Linked DNA regions of Homo sapiens: region 2 is linked to region 1. The links are contacts of gene promoters, found by promoter capture Hi-C in blood cells and fetal thymus (Javierre and others, 2016). All regions are on one chromosome and are shown on one strand. Each heading gives the region's core, a stretch centred on a gene start or on the middle of the fragment in contact. The rest is flanking DNA. Distances are from core to core; before and after follow the strand shown.

Region 1 (7,167 bases), core at 1,947-4,446:
GGAGTGGCAGATGCGGAGTGTGGGTTCCTTGACGCCACTCACTGCCACTCTTTGGGCCACAGCCCCCCTCGGTCCCCACGCGGCCCTCAGGTCCACACAGACCCGCCCGCTGCTGATTTTCTGTCGCTGCAATAGGATCGGGCCAGGGAGAGGACAGGCTTGAGGACTTTCACGGGAAAAAAAAAAAAATCCTGGGTGGGTCACCACACTGCCCCTCCCGTCACCGCAGTCCCGAGCTCCCAGCCGCGGGTGTGCGCGAGGCCGCGCGAATCTCACCTTCTCCCGGCCGGGCGGTACCAGGCGGCGGCGGCGCGCGGCGCGGAGGCGGGGCTCCCTGCGCCCGGCGGCTCCGAGCCATCGAAGTCTGGCAGCGGGTTTCCGTCCTCGCCGTACGCCTCTTCCTCTGGCCTGCGGGGTGGCCGGGGACAGAAGGTGTGGTCAGTGCAAGTTCCTCCCCAGCTCGGCGAGGATCCAAAGTAAGGGGCTCGCGCGGATTTTCACAGGTGATAAAAGTCCTCCGCTGAGAATTGTCTCTTCTCCCAGGACTGGGGGTGGGAGCAGAGGTAAGGAGGAGGCAACGACACCCAACCACTCCTACCCCGCCGGGCGGCCCGCCCACCCCCCCTTCGCGGGTAAAGGGTCGTCCTGCGGGCCACGGCCTCAACAAGCGCTGGGAAACCGAGGCGTCTCCGCCGATCGCGCACACCTGTCTACGGAAAAGGACCGCCCCCCTCCCCGCCTGGCTCCCGAGCCTCCCCAAAGCAGCAACGGGCGGGGACGAGAAAGGCCCTGGGAGACCGGGCGCTGACCCACGCGAAGACCCGAATGGGGAGGCCCAGAAAGCAAAGGAGAGGATGCGTGGGGCGTGCGGGGGCCAACTCCTCAGCCACCCCCACCCCAGCCTCCGAGCCCAGGGGAGCCCTTCTCCGAGCAGATGTAGGTCACGGAGAACCTCGGTTTCTATTTTGGGCAGGCGAGGATCTGGCAGGAACATGAATAATAAATGCCCCTAAACTTAGCCAGTTCGGCGGCGGCTCAGACTGTGGCGCGTCCGCACCCTCCGGTGCTTCTCGCACGGAGAAAGTGCCAGGCACACGGGAACTTGAAAATAGCTGAGGGTGAAACCAGGGTGTTTTAAGGCCACTAAACGAATAGTTCGCGCTGATCTGTTATCGATGGCGGTGCCCCATCTCAACCCCAGAGCACGAGGAGGGGGACCGAGATCCAGCGAGTGCCTGGCGACTTCGCAGTCGCCCTCTACAGCCTCCGTTCTTGACACAGGACGGGTAGAGATGGGTTAAAACAAATCCCTCTCGCTTTGGACCCCTGGAGAGACTTGGCGTGCAGCCAGCGCTAGTAGCACTCTCTGGGCGGGGTTGGAGTCGTACTTCGCTGCTTCACTCGCCTTTTCTCCATCCTTGGAGAGGCCCGGGCAAGGCAAGCGCATCATTCCGCACGCCTCGCACCCAGCCTTTGCTCGGCGATGCGCCTCAGCCCTGGCCCGGGTACCCCGAACCCTGGGGTCTTTCTGGATATTGCCCTGCCTCGAGCCCAGATGCTGGAATCCTAATACAGAACCCAGAACCCATCTCTCCGTCCAAATCAATGATCAGCGGCCCCCCAGAGCTAATGTTCCTGGGCGGGGCTCGGAGAAGGCAGCTTCGCAGGCAGAACGCGCGCTCCTCGCTGCCCCAGGCGCCGCTGGTACGAACCCTCCCCTACCCAGGGCTCATCCACAGCCTGGCACATCGGTCCGCGACTCTGGGGCTGCCTCCGGGAACCTGGGCCGCGCCTGCCGGTTAGAAACCCGGGGTTAAGAAAAAAGCCAAGGTTCCTCCATCCCGGGCCAGGCAGGGCTGCTCTCCCGGTCCTGCCTGCCTGCTGGCTTTCCCTTCCTCCTCCTTTGCGCCTGTTTTTCCCCCTCCTTCGCAGTCTCGTCCTTGTTCTTCCCTCTCTTAAGTCGCTTTTCCTCAATCACACCGGGCCAACACCCTCCCCACCGCACGCCCCCCAAGACAGCCTGGGATTCAAAATGCAGTTGGAACACGGATCACTTGAAAGAAAGCTCTTCAGGGGAAAGAATTGGAATGAAATGAAAAGAAAGGGTGGAGGAGAGAGAGAGACCCCACCCGGATAGTCCAGAACAAGCAGTAACAAAGCAAAGTCCGAGGGAGCTTCACGCTCAACCCCCGGCCAGGCTCCAGAGCTGAAGTTCTCCTAACTCGTCCCAAGAATAGGTAAAAGAAACCAAGCTAGGGGCCGTGCCCTGCCCCCATCCTGTGGGCCGGGTTGGGGGAGGGGGGGTTCTCCAGCGGCCAGAAGCTCACTGGCTCTACCCGGGACCCTGAGCTGCCTAGGGCTGGGGGAGGCGTCCGAGCAGTCGCGGAGCCTGCCAGACCCTCGGCTAGAATGGGGACCCGCTGTCCAGCCGAGGCTGGCGGAGGCGCACCGGGGGCGCAGAGGGCGATGCTAGTAGTCTGGACCCAAAGGACTGCAGGAAGGAGACCGTGAGGAAGCGTCTGTGCCTGGGAAGCCCCAGCTCCTGCTTGGGCCAGGCAGCCAGCACCTACCTGATCCCGGGGAACCGGAGTCCGGCGGCGGCAGGTGAGCTGTAGACGCTGCTGTGCATGATTATCCCATAGACCAGCAGGGCCAGCCTCGCTCCGCTACACATGGTCATTCTGCGCAGGATGGGAAAGAGGACACACAGCTGTGAGAACGCCCCTGGCCTCCCACCCTCCAACCCCAAAAAGCTCTGGAAGCCGGGGGAGGGACGGAGCGAAGCCCCGGCTCCCTGAGTTGAACAGCACTTGGCGACAGCCGGTGCGCGCCCTGCCACTTCTTGCTTGCTATAGTTAGAAAAAAATATATATATATGCATCTACCCGGCGCCCAATAACTAGCCAGACCCGGCTGAAGGAAAGCTAACTCCCCTGACGCGATGCCAAGCGAAAGAATCAGCAGTCGAGTGAGCCGGTCGCTTTGGTAAGATTTTCCCTCCCTTACCCTTCAACTCCTCCCGCTGCCAGGAGAGCTGCCAGGTAGGACGGCGGGCAAAGCGCTTCTTCAAGTTCCTGCGCTGGAGTCACCACCCGAGAGGCATCGCCGTCTGGCGTTGGTGTCTGAGCAGAAGCCGCAGGAACCAGCGGGAGCAGCAGGAGGAGCTGCGGGACTCGTTTGCCGAGGCTCGTGTTCTGCTCAAAAGTTTGTAGACGCGCAGAACCAGGAGGGAGCGTGACACGGAGAGAAGGGGGCGCAGAGAGAGAGGCAGAAGAAAGAAAGAGGGGGCGATGAGGTGAAGCGCGGAGGAGCAAGGTGGCCGTAAGTCCACCCGGAGGAAGAAGCAGGCGATTAAGGGAAAGAGGGAAAGTCAGAAAAGAAGGGGAGGAAGGCAAGGGAGAGGGCGGGCGGCTAGCCCGCCTTTGTAGGAGCCGCGGGCCAGGCAGCCGCGAGGGTCGGCGGCGCCTTCTCTGCTCCGAGGTCTCTCCGGCTGCCTCTGAAGCTGCGGCTTCTGCTGCTGCTACCGCTGGTTACAGAGGTGACCGGCCTTCTGCTCCTATTTATCTGTGCAGTTCGCAAAAATCTATCCGAACATGGTTTTTGGAGAGCCCTCTTTGTCAACATCTGCCTGCCTGTTGCCTTTAAGTACAGAATATTTTGTTGCACTGTTGCGCTCCGATTTTTATTCATGAAATGACTTCCTTTTTTTTTTTCTCAGTCACGTAATGATCGGGTATCAGAAAAAGACGTCAGCATCCTAGTCCCTCAAGGAACATATTAACTATTCTGTGCTGTCCTCTTGGATGATAAGATCCGGAGTCATCGACTTCTCATAAACACCTTTCACTCATACAATCCAATTTTTAAGAAGTCCAATTGTTTTGATGGTTTTCAATTTCACCCGTTTCTCAAGGACAGGTAAAGAATTTTTAGAATTTTGAGGATGACAAAAGTTATGTTTTTAACTATATAATTACGATTTCTCTTTACTTTTTCATCAAGCCTCACCAATCAGAGCTCTGGTCTCTGGAATTAAGCATCATCAAGCTCTCCTATTAATAAATTTAATTTAGATCTCCTAATTTCTTGCGTATGTTCTTTCAGATAGACCATTAAATGTGGAAGTCGTTTTGTTTTTAAAGGGAAGTCTTGGAGGATTTTCAGTAAATCTCTCCTGAGTCTGGCTGCCGTTGACAGTAGGGCTATGAGTAGATTGATGAGAGCTCATGCTGCCTCCGGAGCGCGGCCTGCGGAGCTGTCCAGACTCCGGGTGCTGAAGTGTAGGGTAACAGATGCTACAAACGTTGAAAATTGCCACCGGTTTAATTTTTCACCAGAGCCTCTAAATTTGAAGATTTGGCAGTAGTGCTATTAACGTGGCGATTCATCGCCTAAATCACCCCCACCGTTCAGATACATCCTTTCCCTCTTGTAGCGTCCATAAATGCCCTAATGCTGAGAATGCTCCCCATCCCTGCCTGGATTTGAGGAAAAAGCATTCTGTCCCCCGTTAGTCCTGGCTTTTGGATTTCTAGACCGGCTGTTTGGCTACTTTCACACCTTCTGTGGCTCTTACAGATTTTAAAAATTGATGTTGTGAAATTGTGTTTTCCACAAGAAGTGAAATTTTAAGAATTTGGGGGCGAGAAATATGTTTTTCCACTTTGTTTACAACTTCAGCTCTGTTTGGGAGACACAGACAGACTGGGAAAGCATGAGGGTTCCCAGTACAAGTTCACCTGATGAAGGTTTCTAACAGGAATCCCTCTGCTGGAAACAGTTAATTTTTTTAACTGAAAATGATGTGGGAAGAGGAAAGCAATAAGGGAAGACCATATCCACCCAGAGGCTTCCAATTTCCTGGGTAATTGAAGAAGGTTCATATATTTCTACTCCAGTAAGAGAACTCAGGTCTATTTCTTTAAAAAAAAAAAAAAGAAGAAGAAGAAAGAAAGAAAGAAAATAGAGCCATCAATAACCATTAGAGTGCATTTTAATTATTTGGATCTTACACAAAAATTAGGGGAAATTCCAGTTTAGTGGGAGGGTTTCCTGTTACTACGATTTGGATCTCACATTTAAATAAGCTATATTAGTTCTGCATGCTTTTTCCAAGATATTATATTTCTCCTTCTAAATGCTGTTCCTGCTCTTATTTGAGATTTAATACTTCCTCCTTCTTAAAAAAAAAAACTAAGTTTTGTTTATTCCTGGCCATGAATGACCGAAAACTGTCTGCTTCCTCTTAGTTTATTCCTGGCCGTGCTTCAGATTGTCTGCCTTCAATAAAGCTTCAAACCACATCTACATGGGAATATGTCTCTTTTTCTCTGATACATATGCTCACTGATTTATGTTGGACTGTTTACATGCGTGTTTTCCATGTTCAGCTCTGCCTCTGCAGCAAGCTCGCACACAAAGAGCCTGCGGTGAACACTACCAGATAATCAAGCAGAGATGTCTTTCTTACTAAAGCGCCCAAAGCTATTCCCCACTGTGGCTTTCCTGTCTTCCGCCTTGCTTCACGTCAAAGGTGAACCCCATTAAAATCCTTACTCTTTCCTCCCACACGAATTCTGAGTTGAGTTCAATCTGGAGAAATATTTGAAAATTTCCAAGACTCCTTGTACAATTCACTACTCAACTTTAGTAAAGGGAGCCACCATGTGGGGAGTTTGCTGACTTCACGGCCCATTAAAGGGGGAAAACCACAAACACGATTAACTATCTGGGGAGGACGACTAACTGCTGGCTCCAAGGGCCAACAGAGGCTGAACTGTGCCTCTGACTTACCAAGGCTGCGACCCCGTGCTCTTCTCAGCTTAGATACTCTCAGCTCAGAACTCGGGGCTCAGCACCCAAAAATTACAGGCCTTCAGACCTGAACCCATTCACGAGAGTGAAAGACTAAACAGAGAACTTGAGATTCTTGGTCACTGAACTCCAGAAAATCAAGCTTCCTAGACCCACCAATTGCTCAACACAATCTAAAGACCCACACAGCCCTGCCCACAGCAGCCTGGGGGAATCAAACTCCTACAGGATCACCCACAGATCTTTTGTTGCTCATGGCCATTGTCTAGCTGGGCATGTTTGACATCTCTCTGCAGGAGAGCTTTCCTATTCATGAAAATCTGGCCTTGGCCCTGGGCCAAGGGAAAAGGCCAATAGATAGGAGGAACTAGAAGCTGCTAGATGAGAGTATAGGCCCCTTCTGCTTTCTATTGGGTAGAGGGAATATGGGATGACTGAAGTCTCAAAGACCAAAACTACCCCCAAATGCCCCTTTGATTCTAATCTTGGAAGGCTCCAGTCAAGCATTAACAGAGCATCCTGGAGGCCTTTGTGTCTGGGACTTTGAGGGAGCTGCAAGGAAGAGGGAACTTGTCAGCCCAAAGCCCCAGGCTAGAGAGACCAGGAGCCCCGGCATGCACTGAGGAGGCATGCGGCAGTGGCCAGGTGGGATACCGTGGCCCAGTCCAACAGACATACTAATTGCAAGTGCAGACCCCAGCCTGGCTTCAAGTGCAGATAGGAGCTGGAGGGTGAATCCTAGGAAGCCTCAACTAAAGCACTTTTATGAGAAGAGAGAGAGATAAAGGGAGGAGGAGCTAGAGGAGAATTGGGGAAGAGCAAGACCAGGGTAGGAGAGCCTTCCACTTTAATTGTTCTTACCCAGTTTCCCTCACAAAGGGTATTTAGGTGACTGGGGTTAAGAGCTCAAGAGAAACTTTCCAACCTCCTATATATAATTGAAAATGATGAAAGAGGGGGTTGGGGGAGAGGAGGAAGAAGAGACCAAAGAGTTAGAACGTTCTATTTACAGATAACACAAAGGAATTTCAAGTCTTCTTTCCAACACCCCTACTCCCTTCCCTCAGTGCTCACCAGAATACTTCCCAGGCCAGAAAAGTAGATTTCCCAGGCTGGCAGTTTCTTTCCAGGCTGTGAGATTGTTACATTAACTGGAATCATGTTTGGCTAGAAAAGTTAGAAGAACAATGGAAATCTTTCAGTGGGAGGTCTAACCAGCATCCTCCCTGAGGCACAGCAACTGAAAGTGACTTGAGCTAAGCCCTGACCTGCCCGGAAGACGCTGTTTATATATATTTGTTGGAAATGATTTAATAATACTCTGAACTTCAAGTCCCTAATGTATCAACTTTT
Region 2 (7,167 bases), core at 2,878-5,377, 590 kb before region 1:
AGGATTATAGGCATGAGCTACTGTGCCTGGCCTGTAAATCATCTTTTATGGTTCGAAGGAGACGGTCCATTTTTTGTCATGATCCTGTGGCTAGTCAAGATCACTGCAGAGCTGCAGTGATGCCTCACATTTTTGTTTCAAGTTTATAATTCTGAATGTATTTAGCCCATGCTTCCATAGGTTGGCCACCCCACCAAGATGGCAGAAGCAGGAGAAACTTGCATCCTCAGCCAAATAATGTTCAGCCACCTGATGCAGCCCTCCATGTGAACTCCGGTGCCCTTCTCTTACTCAGGTTTATCAGCAAAGGGTCTCGCATCCCTTGGGAGAAATTCTCCTCCTCAGGGACCTCAAAGCTTTTTCCAGTATGTGAACTTCTGTCTGAAGTATCTCATTAACCTAGTTGGATCGGGGAAGTTCTAGCAGCATTTAACCTCAGAAAGGCAGGTATAATTTCTGCAAAATCAAGATCCCTGGGGTATAACAGCTCAAAAACCTTCCTATGGTAAATATATTGAGACTATTTTATAAGACTGTGCCCTATTAAAAAGTCACACATGCAAAACACCTCATAAAAGTGAATGGATAGGATAGAGATTGCAAAATGCAGTAAACATCTAGTTGGTCTATCAGATTTTCTTCCGATCTGCACCCATTTTTTCATAGGTATTCAATCCAGCTCTCTCGATTATTGTTAGTTTCCAGTATATGCAAAATACCACCTCAACTACATTTACATTATATTTTATATTTTTATAGCCATGTTGCATTTCTTATTTTGAATTCTATATAACAACTGAATATTTTAAATCAGAGAATATAATATGTCCTTGTATATTTTTAAAACATGATCATAAATACAGTTAGCAAAAATATTTATTGAAGTAACAATATTCTTTATGATGTGTTTGAATTGTTTTACCCTATCACAATTTAAACATAAGTTGAGGAACAAATATGACCTCTAGGTGGCATCTAACAATTATTGAAATCAAAAGTTTCCTACAATGCTCTGAAGGTTTGAGAGCCAATTCCTGCCTGGGCTACCATTATCTCAGCACTTCCTGTAGCTGACACATTTTTAAGGAGGTTCACAACCCTAACAGCCCCACAATCTCCCAGTACTAGTATGCCCTGTGGTGAAAGTTCATGGCAAACAGTAACAACCCAATTCTGGAAGGACTGCTAATGGCCCAGAGTCTTCAGTACTGAAGGTTTGAGTCACTCTACCAGGTACAAAACCAAGACCTGCTGAGGTCCTTGCTGAGGGTAAAGGAAATATGGAATAGATAGTGAAAGAAGGTAGTTATAAATACAGCTATGACCACATGACCCATCGCAGAAATAGACTGTAATTATTATAACATATCCTTATTATGAATATGTCTGCATATACGTATTTGTACATAGAAAGTGTTCTTGTTTTCTTCTCTCTTATTTCTTTGTCATGTAACATGAGATAAATTAACTTTATACCACAGTATTTTAAGCATTGTGAACTTTTCATCATAGTATATAAGTAACAGAATATCAAGGAGAAAAGTAAACATTACTGAAGGATTTTGCATCCTCTTCTGGGGAAAGGGTAAGTGCATTTCCAGTTGTATATAGGATAGTAGTATCATGTTTGGCAGAAATGATACTTTGTTTTTGTCTTTATTTGGATATTAAGTATGGCTTATAAAAATGTGTATAGGTATCAAGTTGACAAGCAGTGGACTCTGATGATTAATTTATTGTTCAACTTGGCAAGGTTGTAGTCCCCAGTTACCTGGTAAAATACTAGTCTAGATGTGGTTGTGAAGGTATTTTATATATATAATTGACATTTAAATTTGTTGACTCTAAGCAAGCAGATTACTCTCCATAATATGGGCAGGCATCATCTAATCAGTTGCAAGTCTTGAGTAAAGACTGAGGTTCCCCAAAGAAAAAGGAATTCTTCCTCGAGACTGCAATGTAGAAACTCTGCTTGTTGGCCCTAACAATTTTGAACTCAAGATTGCAACATCAACTGTTATCTGAATTTTCACCCTGCCTGTCTGCCTTATAGCTTTCAGACTTGCCAGGAACCATAATTATTAAGTGAGTCAATTCCTTAAGTAACTAAATTTCTCTCTCTCTATCTGGAGAACTCTGGCTAATACACATACCTTTGTTTCTCTTCAATTTGTTTCTTTAAGCCTGCAGCTTAATAAATCATTTAAGCCAAACAAAATCAATGAAGAAAGTATTGATTTGAAGCTTTTGCTCTTAACTTACTATCCAATACAATAAAAATTTAATAAATCATATTGAAACATTTCTAACCTACAAAGCCAAAAGTTACACAAAGTGTAAAGAATTCAACAGTGACTTTTTGAAGTAAACTAGCAAAGCGTAATACAACCTTTTCTCCTCCACACAGACTAGACCCATCCTTGGAAACAGAACACACCTAATTTCCAACTGCTCTGAATGAAAATATTGTGAATTAAAATTCTATGTTTTTTTATTTCAAAATGGCTGGCTATGGACATTGGATGCCAGGTCTCCTCAGAAAGAAGATCAGAATTACCAGCAAATACACAAGTTCCAAATGGAAAACTGAGAAAAGAGAGCCAGGACCTGTCAGAGTGTCCATGGTAAGAAGCCAGGGTACAGAAAAGGAAAGCAGCAAGAGTCTGGCAAAGATCAGCCCCCAAGGAACTCAGAGCCCTCTGGGAAAAGTAGGTGGAAGTGCATCTCTGCTCCCCTCACCCCTGTGACGATCTGCTGACTACCAAAATCTGGAAACCCTCTGCCCTTGTGACCCAGGGCAATTCTATCAGTGGTGATTTGGAGACTACCCAAGAACAGAGAACTGGGTGGCCACCTCATGCAGGTGTGCCCGCACTTCCCTCAGACCCAAACTGAGACAGCAGCCACCATACTGGTTGTGGGCCACTGCTTTGCCCTGAAATTCTCTTCCCATGTGTCAGCACACCACCAGGTTCCCCATAAACATACCCCACAGACCTACTCCGACTTTAACAAGTAAAGGAAATGGGTCCCTGAGGAGGTGTTGGGACCCCAGTAAGTATAACTCTTGGCATGGGTCATCTCTAAGGGAGGGGGGAGCACAGCCAGCCAAAAACTCCTTGGGACAAAGGAAATATGGGTGCCGCGGCAATCACTGAAGGAGGCAGCACTAATGCCTGGGAAGAAACATGTAGAGGGGGTCATCTTCTGCTCACTCATCCACTATTGTGAACACAGCAGTGTTTCTTTGGAGGAAGCATATTTGCAATTTTTGCAATGGCCCCACCTATACTGAAAGTGAGCCCAGCCACTTGACTGTACACAAAAGCTGGATGGCAAATACCTCTCCCTAAACAGAGTGGCAGCATCCCAGCAACAGAGAATAGACAAGCTGCAGAATTGCCTGCTCCGAACTGGGAAAGAGGCTATGCCCTAAGTGCCCATTTTGGTGGTAGCCATGAGAAGACTGTATCTCTGGCCCACAGCCACACTGAAACCAAGAACCAAAGGACAAAGTGTTTATGAACTGCTGAAGGTCATGAGCCCTGTGACAAGGGCACGATAGGGGAGCAGATCAGTTCCTGCCAGCTCAGGATGAGGAGCTGTGCATCACCTCTCACTCCTTCCTTCAAGACCTTGGTGCATCCTAACATGATCTCTTCCCTCTACCCTCTCTCAGAACAAGTTCTTTCACAGCTCATCAGCCCGCCTGAGGGCAAGCCTGCTCTTACTTTTAAGGGCTACTACTTAATTGCAGCCTGAAGTGCACCATCAAACAGAACAAAACAAAAATTGCTGCCAGAAGGGCTTAGCGCTGGTCCCGGAGACAAGCTTCATGAGATCTCCACACCCTCAGCCTTGCAGGGGATAGTGTGTCAGCTCGAAGACTTAATACATCGCTGCAACAAGCAGCGACTAAGAAAGCTGCAGATGCTATCCACAACCATGGAACCCATAAAGAGCCTTGGCTCCCTGAACGCACACAGAAACAAAACAAAATGATCATACACATATATCACAGTCATACACTCAAGGGAAATATAAAAACACGAAAAAGTCCTATCCAAATGATAGCGAATTCAAAAAATTACAAGTGGCACCTCTCTAAGATGAGAAGGAATCACTACCAGAAATCTGGCAGTACAAAAAGCCAGAGTGTCTTGACACCTCTAAAGGATGGCACAGCTCTCCAGCATTGGATACTAACCAAGCTGAAAATTCTGAAATGACAGATGAAGAATTCAAAATACAGGTTTCAAGGAAACTAAATGAGATCAAAGAGAAAGTTGGAATCCAATACAAATAAACCATAAAAACGGTTCAGGACATGAAACACAAGATAGCTATTTTAAGAAAAAACCATATAGAACTTCTGGAACTGAAAAAGTTGCTAAAGAGATTTTAAAATAAGTTGGAAGCTTTAACAGTAGCCTAGGCCAAGCAGAAGAAAAATTTCATAACCTTAAGACCAGACATTTGAATTAACCCAATCAGACAAAAATAAAGGGAAAAGGATTTTTAAACCGAACAAGGCCTTTAAGAATATGGGATTATATAAGAACAACAAAATCTCCAGCTTATTGGCATTCCTGAGAGAGAAGAAGAAAAAGTAAGCAACTTGTAAAACATATTAAGAGAAACAATTCAGGAAAATCTCCCTAATCATGCTAGAGAAGTCAACATTCTGATACAAAAAAATTGAGAACACATGCAAAATACTATACAACATGACTGTCCCCAAGGAATATAGTCATCAGATTAACCAAAGTCAATGCAAAAGAAAAAAATCTTAAAGGCAGTTAGAAAAAAGGGTCAAATTACCTAGAAGGGAAATTCCATCAGACTGACAGCGGACTTCTCAGTGGAAACCTTACAATTAACAGGCGATAGAGGCCTATTTTTAGCCATTCTGAAGAAAAAAAATCTGCCAGCCAAAAATGTTATATCCTATCACACTAAGCTTCATAAAAGAAAAATAAAGTCTTTCCCAGACAAGTAAACACCAAAGTAATTCTTCAACAGAGCAGTCATAGAAGAAATGCTCAAAGAATTTCTGAACATGTAAACAAAAGAATGATACTTACTACCATAAAAGCACACATAAGTACAAAGTTCACAGAATCTATGAAGTAATTAGACAATTGAGACTAGAAAGCAACTCGCTAATGACACTAAGACGGGAACAAAACCTCACATACTAATATTAACCTTGAAAGTAAACACTCTAAATACCTCACTTAAAAGACATAGAGTGGCAAATTGACTAAAAAAAAGTAAGACCCAACTTTCTGATGCCTTCAAAGACTCATCTGATGCCTAATTACACCCACAGGCTCAAAGGAGAGGGATGGAGAAAGATCTATTATGCAATAGAAAACACAAAAGAGCAGGGGTAACTATTTTTGTATCAGATAAAACAGTCTTTAAACTACCAATAGTTAAAAAAAAAAAAAAAAAGGCAAAGAAGCCAGGCCCACTGGCTCGCACCTGTAATCCCAGCACTTTGGGAGGGAGGCTGAGGTGGGCAGATCACCTAAGGTCAGGAGTTTGAGACCAGCCTGGCCAACGTGGTGAAAACCCATTGCTACTAAAAATACAAAAATTAGCCCGTCGTGGTGGCAGGTGCTTCTAATCCCAGCTACTTTGGAGGCTGATGCAGGAGAATAGCTTGAACCCATGAGGCAGAGGTTGCAGTGAGCCGAGATCGCACCATTGCACTCCAGCCTGGACAACAGAGTGAGACTCCATCTCAAAAAAAAAAAAAAGACAAAGAAGGCTATTATAAAAATTAGAGAACCCAGACTCATAAATACCACTAGACCTAACAAAAGGGATAGACAGCCATTTGATAGTGGGGGACTTCAACACTCCACTGAAAGAACTAGACAAATAATTGAGGGAGAAAACTAACAAAAAATTTCTGGACTTCAATTGAACCTAATATACATTTACAGAATACTTCACCCAACAACCACAGAATATACACTTTTTCTCATCTATATGTGGAAAATTCTCTAAAATTGATCACATGCTTAGTCATGAAACAAGTCTCAATATAATCAAAATAACCAAAATCATATCAAGCATTGCCTCAGACCACAGTGAAGTGAAATTAGAAATCAATACCAAAAGGAACTCCCCAAACCACATAAGCACATGGAAACTAAACAACTTGCTCCTGAATGACTTTTGGATAAACAATGAAATTAAGGTAGAAATCAAATAAGTTATTTGGAAAAAAAAGATAGAAAGCTCCCAAATCAACAGCCTAATGTCTCACCTAAAAGAACTAGAAAAACCCAAACCAAACCCAAAGCTAGCAGAAGAAATGACAAAGATCACAGCAGAACTAAATGACACTGAGACCAAAAAGACCCATACAACTTTTCATTTTGTTGATTATACAATCAAATTATTGATTATTATATCAATAATTTATATAATTTATTTGGATAATAACAAATTATTATAAAAATAATCAGCAAAATGAAAAGTTGGTTCTTTGTGTCCAGGTGCAATAGTTCATACCTGTAATCCCAGGACTTTGGGAGGCCGAGGTTGAAAGATCACTTCAGCCCAGGAGTTCAACACCAGCCTGGGCAACATGGTGAAACCCCATCTCTATTTTTTTTTAAGTTGCTTTTTTGAAAGAATAAACAAAACTGATAGACCACTAGCTAGATTAACCAAGAAAAAAGAGAGGCAATTCAAATAAGCACAATCAGAAATGACAAAAGTGGCATTACAACTGATACTGCAGAAGTATGAAAGATTCTCACGAACTACTATGAACATCTCTATGCACACAAACTAGAAAACTAGAGGAAATGGATAAATTCCTGGAAACATACAACCTCCCCAGAGTGAGCCAGAAAGAAATGAAAATCCTGAACAGACTGATAATGAGTTATGAAATTGAATTCGTAATAAAAAATCTACCAAACAAAAAAACCCAGGGCCAGACTGATTCACAGCCAAATTCTACAAGACATACAAAGAAGAGATTCTACCAATCTTACTGAAATTATTCAGAAAATCTAGGAAAACATGTTCCTCCCTAATTCACTCAACAAAACCTGTATCATCCTGATACCAAAATATGGCAAAGACAAGAAGAAGAAAGAAAACTGCGGGCCAATATCCTTGATGAATATAGTTGCAAAAAAT

What was found. The method cuts DNA at HindIII sites, captures the fragments that hold promoters and counts their contacts. A CHiCAGO score of 5 or more calls a contact.
Region 2: a contact is called between a fragment that was not itself captured here and the fragment with the promoter of ADCYAP1 in region 1, in 1 of 17 cell types (endothelial precursors). The highest score is 5.4, in endothelial precursors.

Annotation. Positions count from the first base shown.
Region 1 is chr18:900,900-908,066 of GRCh38, reverse strand. ADCYAP1 (adenylate cyclase activating polypeptide 1) reads right to left here and starts at 3,196. Exons shown (of 5, transcript NM_001099733.2): 1 at 3,007-3,196; 2 at 2,571-2,681; 3 at 277-408. The coding sequence starts at 2,680. It overlaps LOC124904340 (a long non-coding RNA gene), which reads left to right and starts at 1,415. Exons shown (of 2, transcript XR_007066435.1): 1 at 1,415-2,985; 2 at 3,719-5,303. RefSeq lists an enhancer at 1-351. The HindIII fragment of the contact is 10,218 bases long and covers 1-5,293 here.
Region 2 is chr18:1,493,281-1,500,447 of GRCh38, reverse strand. No RefSeq gene overlaps it. Among named protein-coding and RNA genes, the nearest start is that of LINC00470, 140 kb to the right of the region's middle. The HindIII fragment of the contact is 587 bases long and covers 3,834-4,420 here.